3 separate regions of the Homo sapiens genome follow, and regions 1 and 2 are each linked to region 3. Evidence: promoter capture Hi-C in 16 types of primary human blood cells and fetal thymus (Javierre and others, 2016). All regions are on one chromosome and are shown on one strand. Each heading gives the region's core, a stretch centred on a gene start or on the middle of the fragment in contact. The rest is flanking DNA. Distances are from core to core; before and after follow the strand shown. Region 1 overlaps LAMA3 (laminin subunit alpha 3). Region 2 overlaps LAMA3 (laminin subunit alpha 3). Region 3 holds the start of ANKRD29 (ankyrin repeat domain 29).

Region 1 (3,773 bases), core at 79-2,578, 250 kb before region 3:
AGGAGGGTAGGTCCTGTGCAGTATCACACTGGCACATTCTGACCACAGAACCCTCCCTTGAATGTGCAATTACAGTTTACAAACTGGGGCCTGGAAGAAAATCCTTCTTTCTGCCTGAATAAACTCAATGGGGGCAAATTGCTTCAGGATCCTGATATACCAGATAATGTAAGGATGAAGGTCATGTACACTTGTAAAGGATGACAGGAGAAAATCAATCTTTATATTCAAGCAACACAAGAATTGGGGAAAGAAAGACAACCAATTCTTGAGTAAATAAGTGTTTTTTTCTTTCTTGATAAATGTGATAACTCATTAAAGAACTAGCCTTGGCCACTGACCACGTGGGGACACACTCACCTTACTGGCAGCATCTCTGGCCTGCTGAATTAGTTCTCGTATTCTGTCCATGTTGTCAGAGATGTTTCCCAAGGGCAACAGCTGTTGGTTGATACTTTCAATCTTGCGCCAAAGATCAGGTAGTTTGTTGGTTAACTTATTCACTGTTGGTGAGAAAAAAAATAGAAATGTAAGATTGTGCATTAAGAAAAGGCTAACTACAAATGTTCTTACTGACAGTATTTGTCAAGTGGCATGTTTGGTCCCCAGATGTTGAACAGGATGGGTCATAATTAGTTACGGTAGTTCCCCCCTTACCCATGGTTTCACTTCCCAAGGTTTCAAGTACTTGCTATCAACCATGGTCCAAAAATATTAAAAAAGAAAAATTCCAGAAATAAGCAATTCATAAGTTTTGAATTGGGTGCTGTTTGGAATAGCATGACGAAATCTCATATGGTCCCACCCATGTGAATCTTCCTTTTTTCCAGCATATCCTTGCTGTCTACCCTACCCACCCATTAGTCACTTAGTAGCTGTCTGGGTTATCAGATCGAAAAAACATAGTATATATAGGGTTTGGTACTATCTGTGGGTTCACACACCCAGTAGGGGTCTTGGAACATATCCCCTGAGGATAAGGAGGAACTACTGTACATGGTGAATTGTATTCTGCAATCTAGGTACCAAATCCTTTACTTTGACCACTACAGAAAGAAAAAAAAAAACCTTTGTTTTCTGATTCTTTTTCTTTCTTTCTTTCCTTTTTTTTTTTTTTTTTTTGTTTGAGATGGAGTCTCGCTCTGTCGTCCAGGCTGGAGTGCAGTGGTGCAATTTCAGCTCACTGCAACCTCCACCTCCCAGGATCACGCCATTCTCCTGCCTCAGCCTCCCGAGTAGCTGGGACTACAGGCGCCCATCACCACGCCTGGCTAATTTTTTGTATTTTTAGTAGAGACAGGATTTCACCATGTTAGCCAGGATGGTCTCGATCTCCTGACCTCGTGATCCACCCACCTCGGCCTCCCAAAGTGCTGGGATTACAGGCATGAGCCACAGCGCACAGAAAACACAGCCTGTTTTCTGATTCTTAATATCAATCATAATTCAATGCCTCATGATTTAGAAACATATATCTCCACTTTGTAAAAAAGCAAACCAATAGCATTTTCAATGTATTTTCTAAAAATTAAAAATCCTGTCTGGTCCTTCCAACTAGCAGGATATCTATACGCTTTGAATATATCCTGTATCAGGTGGAGCTGTTTTCTAATGTTTTAGTTTCTGAGATCAGACTTTACCAGGGAAGAATGGAAATGGACCAAAACACATAACAATGGAGAGAATGGCTAAGATGTCCTGGCCAGAGATCGCCTGATACCCGAGTTATCTGCATCAGTCAGAGCCTTTTTGAAGTCTTCGTTCTGTGTCCTCCCATAGGTGTCCTTAATTCTTTCCACATCTGTCTGGATGGGGTTGAGCCCATCCAGAACCTCATCTGTGATGTCGTTGGCCTTTCTGACCATGCTCTTTGCACTACTGATCATAGCATCAATATCACCTAATGCACACACAGATAGGGAGGTATAAGTATCTAAAACGTTCAACAAAAGAAGCCAACCGAGTACAATGGATTAGGAAGATGCTGACCTCTCTGTATCCCATGAAGACCATCTCGGAGAGTTGTGAGATTGGTGTCTATCACTTCTTTCTGAACTGTCACAATATTCAGGGTTTGCTGTAGGTTGTTGAGAGCTGGACTGACTTCTAAAATAAAATAAAGCATCAGGAGGCAATTACTTTGTGCATTTTGATCCTCCATTGGTATTTGTGGCCCCTGAAGTAGCCAGTGTCTGCACAGCATTGAGTAGACTTGCTTCTTAGGGGTCACCTCAGAGATGCCCACTGCATGTGCCCAGACCCACAGCTCTGGGATCCTCCAGTTACAGAGGTCAGCAGCAAATCAGAGCCTTGTGGTAATGCCTTGGAAATACACAGGAAGAAAGAAAGAGGCTGAATAACTTGGGGAAGGCTAAACTTCTTAACTGCTCAGAGTAAGAGACTCTGTTTAGTAAAAGATGCATCTGTCTTATCCACTACCATGTCCTACCACATAATGTAGTGTCTGGCACTAGTTGAGGCGTAATATTAGTATATGTTTGTTGAGTAAATGAATACATGAGTGAATGAATGAATTAATAATGTAGAAAGGATCCTCTTCCATCAGAGGACAAGAAAAGAGTGTTGTTGAAAGAGCCTCATCCAGGCAAATACAGACACAAAGTAGGCACTGTTTGTTTCTGTTAATTTCCAAAATGACACATTTTAAAAATTCTGTGAAAGAAAGGGAGCTAGCAGACATTCCTAGCTGATAATATTGCCATCCTTGGGTCATCAAAAATGACCAGCAAATGCTTTAAGACCATCTTGATGATTCATGGCTTCAATTACGATTCCAGGACTGGTTTACATAGCAACATAGTTAGCATCCTAACCCTGTTTAGCACACTGAGCCTACCTCGAAGCTCAAATTTTGTAGAGAGAAATAGATGTCATACCAGGAAATCCAAATTATTGAAATTTGCAAGGCAAATGATTGTATGTTAGTACTTTTTTGGTATTTTATTTTTCATGTCTTTAATTTTTTAACATGTGAAGGAAAGAGAGAAAGAAAGAAGGAAGGAAAAGAAGGAAGCAGAAAGGAGAGAAATTATTTAATTTACAGAGGCATCATTTAATCCCTCTGAAAGGACTAAGAGGCTGAATGAGGGCCTTGGACTCATGGATGACAACAAGAGCCTGGAGAAACACAAGAAACAGCATTTTTCAAACACAGAAATTTGGTGAGATTGAGAGAGTTTAATTATTTAAAAAAATAAGTAAGTAAAATACATGAAAATTTTCCAGAGATAAAATTTATGCTTAAAAAATTCTCATGCTTCACAGTAGCAGTGATTTTGGGGACTTTTAGTTGCAAAGATTTTAGGACTTAAGAAATTTTAAAGCAGTTATTCTAATGATCCCAAACCAATGATCTTGACATGTGGGGTTGCCAATGCCATGATCACAGGTGGGTTAAATTAAAATAGCCTCCCCACCAAGGCCAGGCCCAAATAGGCCTATCACTCTCAAGATTTATTTATATTTATAAGGCTCTAGTTAATTTTGTACATGATAGGTGGGGAATATTTAGAATATTGGGTGGATACATGAAATTGATAAATAAATCATGAATTTAAAAAGTATTATCTGGGCCCGGCATGGTGGCTCATGCTTGTAATCCCACCATTTTGGGAAGCTGAGACAGGAGGATCCCGTAAGGACAGGAATTTGAGCCCAGCCTGGGAAACATAGCAAGACCTTGCCTCTAAAAAAAATACAAAAATTAGCTGGGCATGGTGGTGCACGCCTGTAATCTCAGCTACTTGGGAGGC
Region 2 (3,759 bases), core at 801-3,300, 140 kb before region 3:
TAGCAACTCCAATTGCAGCTGCTATACTAGATGTGGCTTCATTGCTTGAGCAAATTAACATATCACCTGACACCTGGAATGCAGCTGTTAGTCTGGCAAATGCTTTTTTCCTTCACACCTTTAGTAAAAACCAACAAGCAGTTTGTTTTCAACTGGCCAGGCCAGCAATATACTTTCACTGTCTGTATTAGGCTATTTTTATGTTGCTATAAAGAAATACCTGGGGCTAGGTAATTTATGAAGAAAAGAAATTTAATTGGCATAGTTTTGCAAGCTGTACAGGAAGCATGGTGCCAGCATCTGCTTCTGGTGAGGGTCTCAGGGAACTTACAACCCATGGCAGAAGGTAAAGGGGAGCCAGTACATCACATAGCAAGAACAGAAGCAAGGTAGGGGGAGGTATCACACACTTTTAAACAACCAGATCTCAAGTGAACTCAGAGAGAGATCTCACCCACTATCAGGAGGACAATACTAAGCCATTCATGAAGGATCCATCTCCATGATCCAAACACCTCCCACCAGGCCCCACCTACAACATTGGGGATCAGATTTCAACACGAGGTTTGGAGGGGGCAAACATCCAAACTATATCACTGTCCTACATCAGGGGTCTATCAACTCTGGTCCTGTGTCATAATTTAGGTCACAGGGATCTTGATCACCTTTCCCTTCCATAAGGCATCACATCGGTCTATTACATTGAGGACATTATGCTAATTGGAGCTAGTGAACAAGAAGTAGCAACTACTCTAGACTTATTGGTAAGACATTTGGGTGTCAGGAGGTAAAAATTAAATGCAATAAAACATCCAGAGTCTTCTACCTCAGTTAAATTTCTAAGGGTCCAGTAGTGTGAGTCCCAGAACAAGGGAAGGCTCTGCAGCAGGTCCAGGCTGCTGTGTAAGCTGTTCTGCCACTTAAAGCATATGACTGAGCAGATCTAATGGTGCTTTTAAGTGTCAGTGGCAGATAGGGATGCTTTTTGGAGCCTTCAGCAGGCCCACATAAGTGAACGACAGTGCAGACCCTTAGGATTTTGGAGCAAAGTCCTGCCACCGTCTACATATAAGCCATCCTCTGCAGATAACTTTTTTTTGAGAAACAGCTTTTCACTTTCTACTGGGTCTTAGTAGAGACAGAAGGCTTAACCATGGGCCATGAAGTCACTATGTGATGTGAGCTGACCATTATGAACTGGGTGTTATCTGACCCACGAAGCCATAAGTTGGGCAAGCACAGCAGCATTCCGTCATCAAATGGAAGTGGTATACATAAGATTGGATCCAAGCAGCCTCTACACAAGTAAGCTATGCAAAGAACGCCACACTCCACACTCCTGCTACATTCCACATCTACAGCATTATGGTGAGTTCCTTGTGATCAGTTAACAAAGAAAGAGAAAACTTAGGCCTGTTTTAGACCAGGTATTGCAAGATATGGAGGCATCACCTGAAAGTGGACAGCTGCAGCACATTTGTGCCTTTCTGGGACATCCTGAAGGACAGTGGTGAAGGGAAATCCTCCCAGTAGGGAGAACTTTGAGCAGTGTGCTGGTTGTTCACTTTGCTTGGAAGGAGAAATGGCCAGATGTGAAATTACATATTGATTAATGGGCTGTGGCCAATTCTTTGACTGGATGGCCAGGGACTTTGAAGGAACATGATTGGAAAATTGGTGACAGGAAGATCTGGGGAAGGGTCTGAGTGAAAACCCTCTCTAAATGGCTAAGAAACATGTCCTAGGTGAATGCTTCCCAAGTAGACAGGAGGATCTGTTCTGTGGATACCCGGCAGCCTCTGTCCCATCCACTTCTATCATTGTCCAGTGGGCTCATAACAAAGTAGCCATGGGGGCAGGGATGGAGTTTATCCCTGGGCTCAGCAAAATGTACTTCCACTCACCACAGCTGAGTTCCCAGTCTGCGAGCAGCAGAGACCAATACCAAGTCCTCAATATGGCACCATTCTCCAGGGTAATCAGCTGGCTACCTGGTGGCAGGTTAATTACTTTGAACTGTCCTATCATGGAAGGGGAAGTGTTTTGTTCTTATTGGAATGGACACTTACTTGGATACAGAAATTCCTTCTCTGCATGCAATGCTTCTGTCAAAACTACATTTGTAGACTTACAGAATGCTTTATTTACTGTCATAGTATCCACATAGTATTGCTTCTGATCAAAGAACTCGCTTCACAACAAATGGAATGCAGCAGTGAGCCCATGGTCATGGAATTCACTAATCTCACCACTTTCCCCACCATCCTGAACAGGTGGCTTAATACAACAGTGGAATGGCCTTTTGAAAACTCAGTTACAGTGAGTTTTCACTGTAGGTGAAAACTACTAGGTGGCAGTACCTTGCGGGGCTGAGGCAAGTTTCTCCAGAAAGCAGTATCTGCTCTGAATCATTGTACAACATATGGTTTCTCTGATAGCCAAGATTCACGAGTTCAGGAATCAAGAGGTAGAAATGGGAGTGGCATCACTCACTATAAACCCTAGTAATCAACTAGCTTCCAATCCCAGCTGCCTTCTGCTCTGGTGGTCGAGAGGTCTTAGTTCCAGAGGAAGAAATGCTTCTACCAGGAGACGTGACGATCATTCTATTGAACTGGAAGTTAAGACTGCTACATGGTTTCCTCATTCCTCTGAATCAACAGATGAAGATAGAAGCAATTGTGTTCCACTAATTACCAAGGGGAAAATGAACTGTTCTTCAAAAATGGAGGTAAGGAAGAATATGTCTAGAATACAGGAGATGACTTAAGGTGTCTCTTAGTATTACCATGTCTTGTGATTAAAGTCAATGGAAAACTACAACCCAATTCAGGCAAGACTACTGATGTCCTAGACCCTTCAAGAATGAAGATTTGTGTCACTTCACCAGGTAAAGAACCATGAGGTGCTTGCTGAGGGCAAAGGGAATATGGAATGGGTGGCAGAAGAAGGTAGTTACAAATACAGTTTGAGTATCCCTTATCCGAAATGCTGGGACCAAACATGTTTTAGATTTTTTATTTTTTCAGATTTTGGAATATTTGCATTATACCTGATTGGGCATCTCAAATTTGAATATTCAAAATCCAAAATTTTCCAATGAGTATTTGTTTTGAGCATCGTGTCAGCACTCAAAAAGTTCTGGATGCGGGAGCATTTTGGATTTTTGTATTTGGGATGCTCAACTTATACCAGCTATGACCATGTGACCTGTTACAGAAATTAGTATTTGTAATTGTAGTGAGTATTTCTTCCTATTTTGTTATGAATATGTTTTTTCTGTATATGCGTATGTTATATGTATGTAAAACAAAAATCTTTGTTTTCCAACTGAACAGCAAAAAATCAAATAATGTGATTTAAAAGTGGGCAAAGGATATAAATAGACATTTCTAAAAAGAAGACATACAAAAGGCCAACAAGTATACGAAAAAATGTTCAACATCACTAATCATCAGGGAAATGAAAATCAAACCCACAATGAGATATCATCTCCGTTAGAATGGCTATCATCAAAAAGACCAAAAATAGCAAATGCTGGAAAGGATGTGAAGAAAAGGAAACTATTATACATTATTAGTGGGAATGTAAATTGGTACGGCGATTATGGAAAACAGTATGGAGGTTTCTTTAAAAACTAAAAGTAGAACTACCATACAATCTAGCCATCTCACTACTGAGTATCTATCCAAAGAAAAGGGAATTTGTATATGAAAGGGACACCTGTGCCCCCATGGAGGTTTTTAGGCTCTAAAATGC
Region 3 (3,750 bases), core at 690-3,189:
ACGGAAAGGAAACAGGCTTTGGAGCTAGACAAACACCTAGCCCTATCACTTATTAGCAAATTACTCCAATCTCTCAGAATCTTAGTTTTTTCATCCGTGGAATGGGTTAATACTCACCCCATAAAATGTTTATAAGGAAAGCACCTTGTACCTAGAAAACACTCAAAATATTAGTTCTTTCCTTTCTCCCTTTTATTTATCAAAACTATTAAAGCAGACCAGGCGCGGTGGCTCACGTTTGTAATCCTAGCACCTTGGGAGGCCGAACCAGGTGGATCACCTGAGGTCAGTAGTTCGAGACCAGCCTGGCCAACATGGCGAAACCCTGTCTCTACTAAAAATACAAAAATTAGCTGGGCACGGTGACAGGAGCCTATAATACCAGCTACTCGAGAGGCTGAGGCAGGAGAATTGCTTGAACCCGGGGGGTGGAGGTTGCAGTGAGCCAGGATCATGCCACTTCACTTCAGCCTGGGCAAAAGAGCGAAACTCCATCTGAGAAGAAAAAACAAACAAACAAACAAAAAACTATTAAAGCAAAACCTCTGATGCTTGATTTTTATATAATAACGTTGTGTGGCAACTTAAAAACTGTGTCATTTATAGGCACTCAAGGCAAGGAAAATGTTTAGAGTCCTTATTTTTAAAATTGGAATTTTCTATAAAAGTTCAGAATGTTTTTAATTTAAAGTTGTTTTAAGCACAAAGTAATACAATTTATCCATGAAGGTTAAACATTTTAATTTTTATCATTAACTTTTATTTGTAATTGTTTTCTACCTTTTAAATTAAATATTCGTTACAAATTTAATTGAGAAGAGGGAAGGAGGGGGAGAATGAATGAGTGGATTCTTATAGTTTGAGGGGGTAAGACCTCCATTTTTATACTATTTTTTTGTTTTGTTTTTATTTTTATTTTTGAGGCAGAGTCTTGCTCTGTTGCCCAGGCTGGAGTGCAGTGACCGAATCTTGGCTCACTGCAGCCTCAACCTCCCAGGTTCAAGCGATCCTCCCACCTCAGCCTCCCGAGTAGCTGGGACTACAGGTGCGCACCACCACGCCTGGCTAATTTTTGTATTTTTAGTAGAGATAGAGTTTTGCCATGTTGGCCAGTCTGATCTCGAACTCCTGGACTCAAGTGATCTGCCCGCCTTTGGCCTCCCAAAGAGTTGGGATTATAGGCGTGAGCCACTATGCCTGGGCTACTTTTTTACTTTCACTTTTCTAAAATGCTCTCAAAGAGCTGTTGTTGCCGTTTATACTTAAAACTCCCAGTTTTACTTCGCCCAAACCAATCCTGGGCAGGCAGCAGGAGTGGACACACATACTGCAATACTCCAGGGCTGCAGCATCAGACCCAGAGGAGGAGGGAACTGCTGGATTAATAACGCGGAGGAGGAGGAGGGGTATGAGTCTATTCCAAAATTGGCCTTTGCCCTTCAAAGAGGAAAAGACCACTTATTGTTTGTGCAATCAAAAGGTTTGTTTCCTAGATATTTTCCCCAGGAGAAAAAAGTTTCCCAGGAAACCGAGAAAGAAATTATAACGAAAATAGCTATTGGATGAATTTTTTCCTCAAGCTTCATTTTTACATCATTATAATATTTGTGCTGTAATGAAGGTTGGGAGTCCTCTGGGGCAGACCAGTCTATTTGGGAGGATATGTATGGAGTTTGTGTGTGAGTACATGCGGGTGAGTGGGCGTGAGTGTGGAAAGTATGTGTGTGGAACCTCTGTGTGTGTGGAATGTGGAGCGTATGCACAATGTGTGTGGAGTTTGGAGTGTGTGTGTGGACGAGTGAGTGTGGAAGTGTGGACGTGTGTGGAAAGTGCACAGTGCGTGCGGAGTTTGGGGTGTTTGTGCACGCGCGTGTGTGGCAGGTCCTGGAGCGCGTCCACGCGACACCCCATGTGTAGTGTGCGCGCGCGCGCGCCCCCGCGCCGCCCCTTCGGCCCGGCCCTGTGTGCGGCGGCTGCTGCCGGGCCGGGCGGCGGGAGCGCGCGGCGTCGGAGGCCGCCCCTCTGCGGAACGCCGAGAGCCCCGGGAGAGTGAAGGGCCGGGGAGGACAAGGCGCCCCGGGCCCAAAGCGCGCCGGCTCCCGCTCGGGCGGCCGCGGACATGTGCAGGATGTCCTTCAAGGTGAGCGACCGGGACTCCGGGGTCAGGGCTGGGGCCGGGCTCGGGCGGCCGGGCCCGCGGGGTCGGGTGGGGTGGGATGGGGTGGGATGGGGTGGGCGCTGCCCGCTGCCCGCCGCCTCCTCCTTCCTCTCTCCTCCAGCTGCGGGCGAGGCCCGGGAGGAAGCGGCGGGGCTGGGTGCGCCCTGTGGGTTTGCGGTTTGCCTGCCTGCCCTGCCTGAGAGGCTTCGCACTCATGGCTGTGGATCGGCTGAGTCTGTGCCCGGCGACGGGGCGGCGGGGACTGTCGCCGGGTAACAGGTCGGGGGCGGGTAAGAAGCCTGGGGTCAGCGCTGTCCTGCAGCAGAAGGAGTCCCCGACCCTGACCCTCTGGGTCCTCATGCAGGAGTACCAGCTGCACCCACGGATGCCTCCTCCCCGGAGGGGTGGCCAGCACCCAGGGAGGCTTCAGGGTCCAAAGGTGTCTTGTCTCAAAAGAGTTGATTAAAGTCATTCCATCTAATCCCCACATTTTAGGATGAAAGAGGTTGATTTGCCTCGATTGAAAGGGTTTAATAAAAATAGCAGTTAAAATGTATTAAACAGTTCAAATGTGCCTGACTCTGAACCAAGGACATGGTGTGTATGGTCTCAACCCTGGGGGAGACCTGTGGGAGGTGCTCTTCGTGGCTCTTTTTTTTTTTTTTTTCAAATGAGAAAACTAAGATATAGAGAAATTAACTCACCCACGGTTTTGCAGCCAATAAGTTATGGTGTTAAGACTGAAACCCAAGTGTGTCTGACTCCTAAGCCACTGTAATCCCGTTGCCGACAATAGCTCATGTAAGCAGAGGAGTGACATGGCGAGATGTGCATGTTGCAAAGATCTCTGGCTAGGTTTGGAGAAGAGGGTTGGAGCTGGAAGATGTTGTCATCTTTTTAAGAAATGGTACTGGACCAGTGCATAGGTGGTGAGAATGGAACGAAGCAGACGAATGTGAATGACTTTAAAGTTTTTTTTCCTGAGACGGAGTTTTGCTCTTGTTGCCCAGGCTGGAGTGCAATGGTGTGATCTCAGCTCACTGCAACTTCCGCCTCCCGGGTTCAAGCTATTTCTCCTTCCTTACCCTCCAGAGTAGCTGGGATTACAGGCGTGCGCCACCATGCCCAGCTAATTTTTTCGTATTTTTAGTAGAGACGGGGTTCTGCCATGTTGGCGAGGCTGGTCTCGAACTCCTGACCTCAGGTGATCCACCCTCCTTGGCCTCCCAAAGTGCTGGGGTTAAAGGCGTGAGCCACTACGCCCGGCCGACTTTAAAAGTTTTAAATCGGCATAATTCAGTAGGGAAGGCAAGAGAGATAAAGATAAAACGTTTGGTTTGGGATAAATTTTGAGGATAGATGGGAATCCAAGCAGAGATGTTGATTAGACAGATATACTCTCCTCGATCCCAGGAGGCAAGTCTGGGCAGCAGCTAGAGATGAGATTTAGGAGTCAGCAGTGTTAAGTAGGCACCCATGGGAATGAACATGATTGCCCAGTGGAACCATATAAAGGTGGAAAATAAGAGGACTGAGGACAAAATCTTGAAGAAGATTTGAGAAAGAGCAGCCAGAGACGAATGAGAAAACTC

What was found. The method cuts DNA at HindIII sites, captures the fragments that hold promoters and counts their contacts. A CHiCAGO score of 5 or more calls a contact.
Region 1: a fragment that was not itself captured here is called in contact with the fragment with the promoter of ANKRD29 in region 3 in 1 of 17 cell types (M1 macrophages); the score reaches 5.2 in M1 macrophages.
Region 2: a contact is called between a fragment that was not itself captured here and the fragment with the promoter of ANKRD29 in region 3, in 4 of 17 cell types (M1 macrophages, M0 macrophages, M2 macrophages and 1 more). The highest score is 7.0, in M1 macrophages.

What each region holds. Positions count from the first base shown.
Region 1 is chr18:23,905,883-23,909,655 of GRCh38, reverse strand. LAMA3 (laminin subunit alpha 3) reads right to left here. Exons shown (of 75, transcript NM_198129.4): 53 at 1,990-2,106; 54 at 1,721-1,900; 55 at 361-503. Among named protein-coding and RNA genes, the nearest start is that of LINC02958, 75 kb to the left of the region's middle. The HindIII fragment of the contact is 6,258 bases long and covers 1-3,773 here.
Region 2 is chr18:23,801,480-23,805,238 of GRCh38, reverse strand. The region is part of intron 12 of LAMA3 (laminin subunit alpha 3); the gene reads right to left. Among named protein-coding and RNA genes, the nearest start is that of LAMA3, 110 kb to the right of the region's middle. The HindIII fragment of the contact is 4,878 bases long and covers 1-3,759 here.
Region 3 is chr18:23,661,100-23,664,849 of GRCh38, reverse strand. ANKRD29 (ankyrin repeat domain 29) reads left to right here and starts at 1,939. Exons shown (of 10, transcript NM_173505.4): 1 at 1,939-2,140. The coding sequence starts at 2,120. The HindIII fragment of the contact is 8,557 bases long and covers 1,583-3,750 here.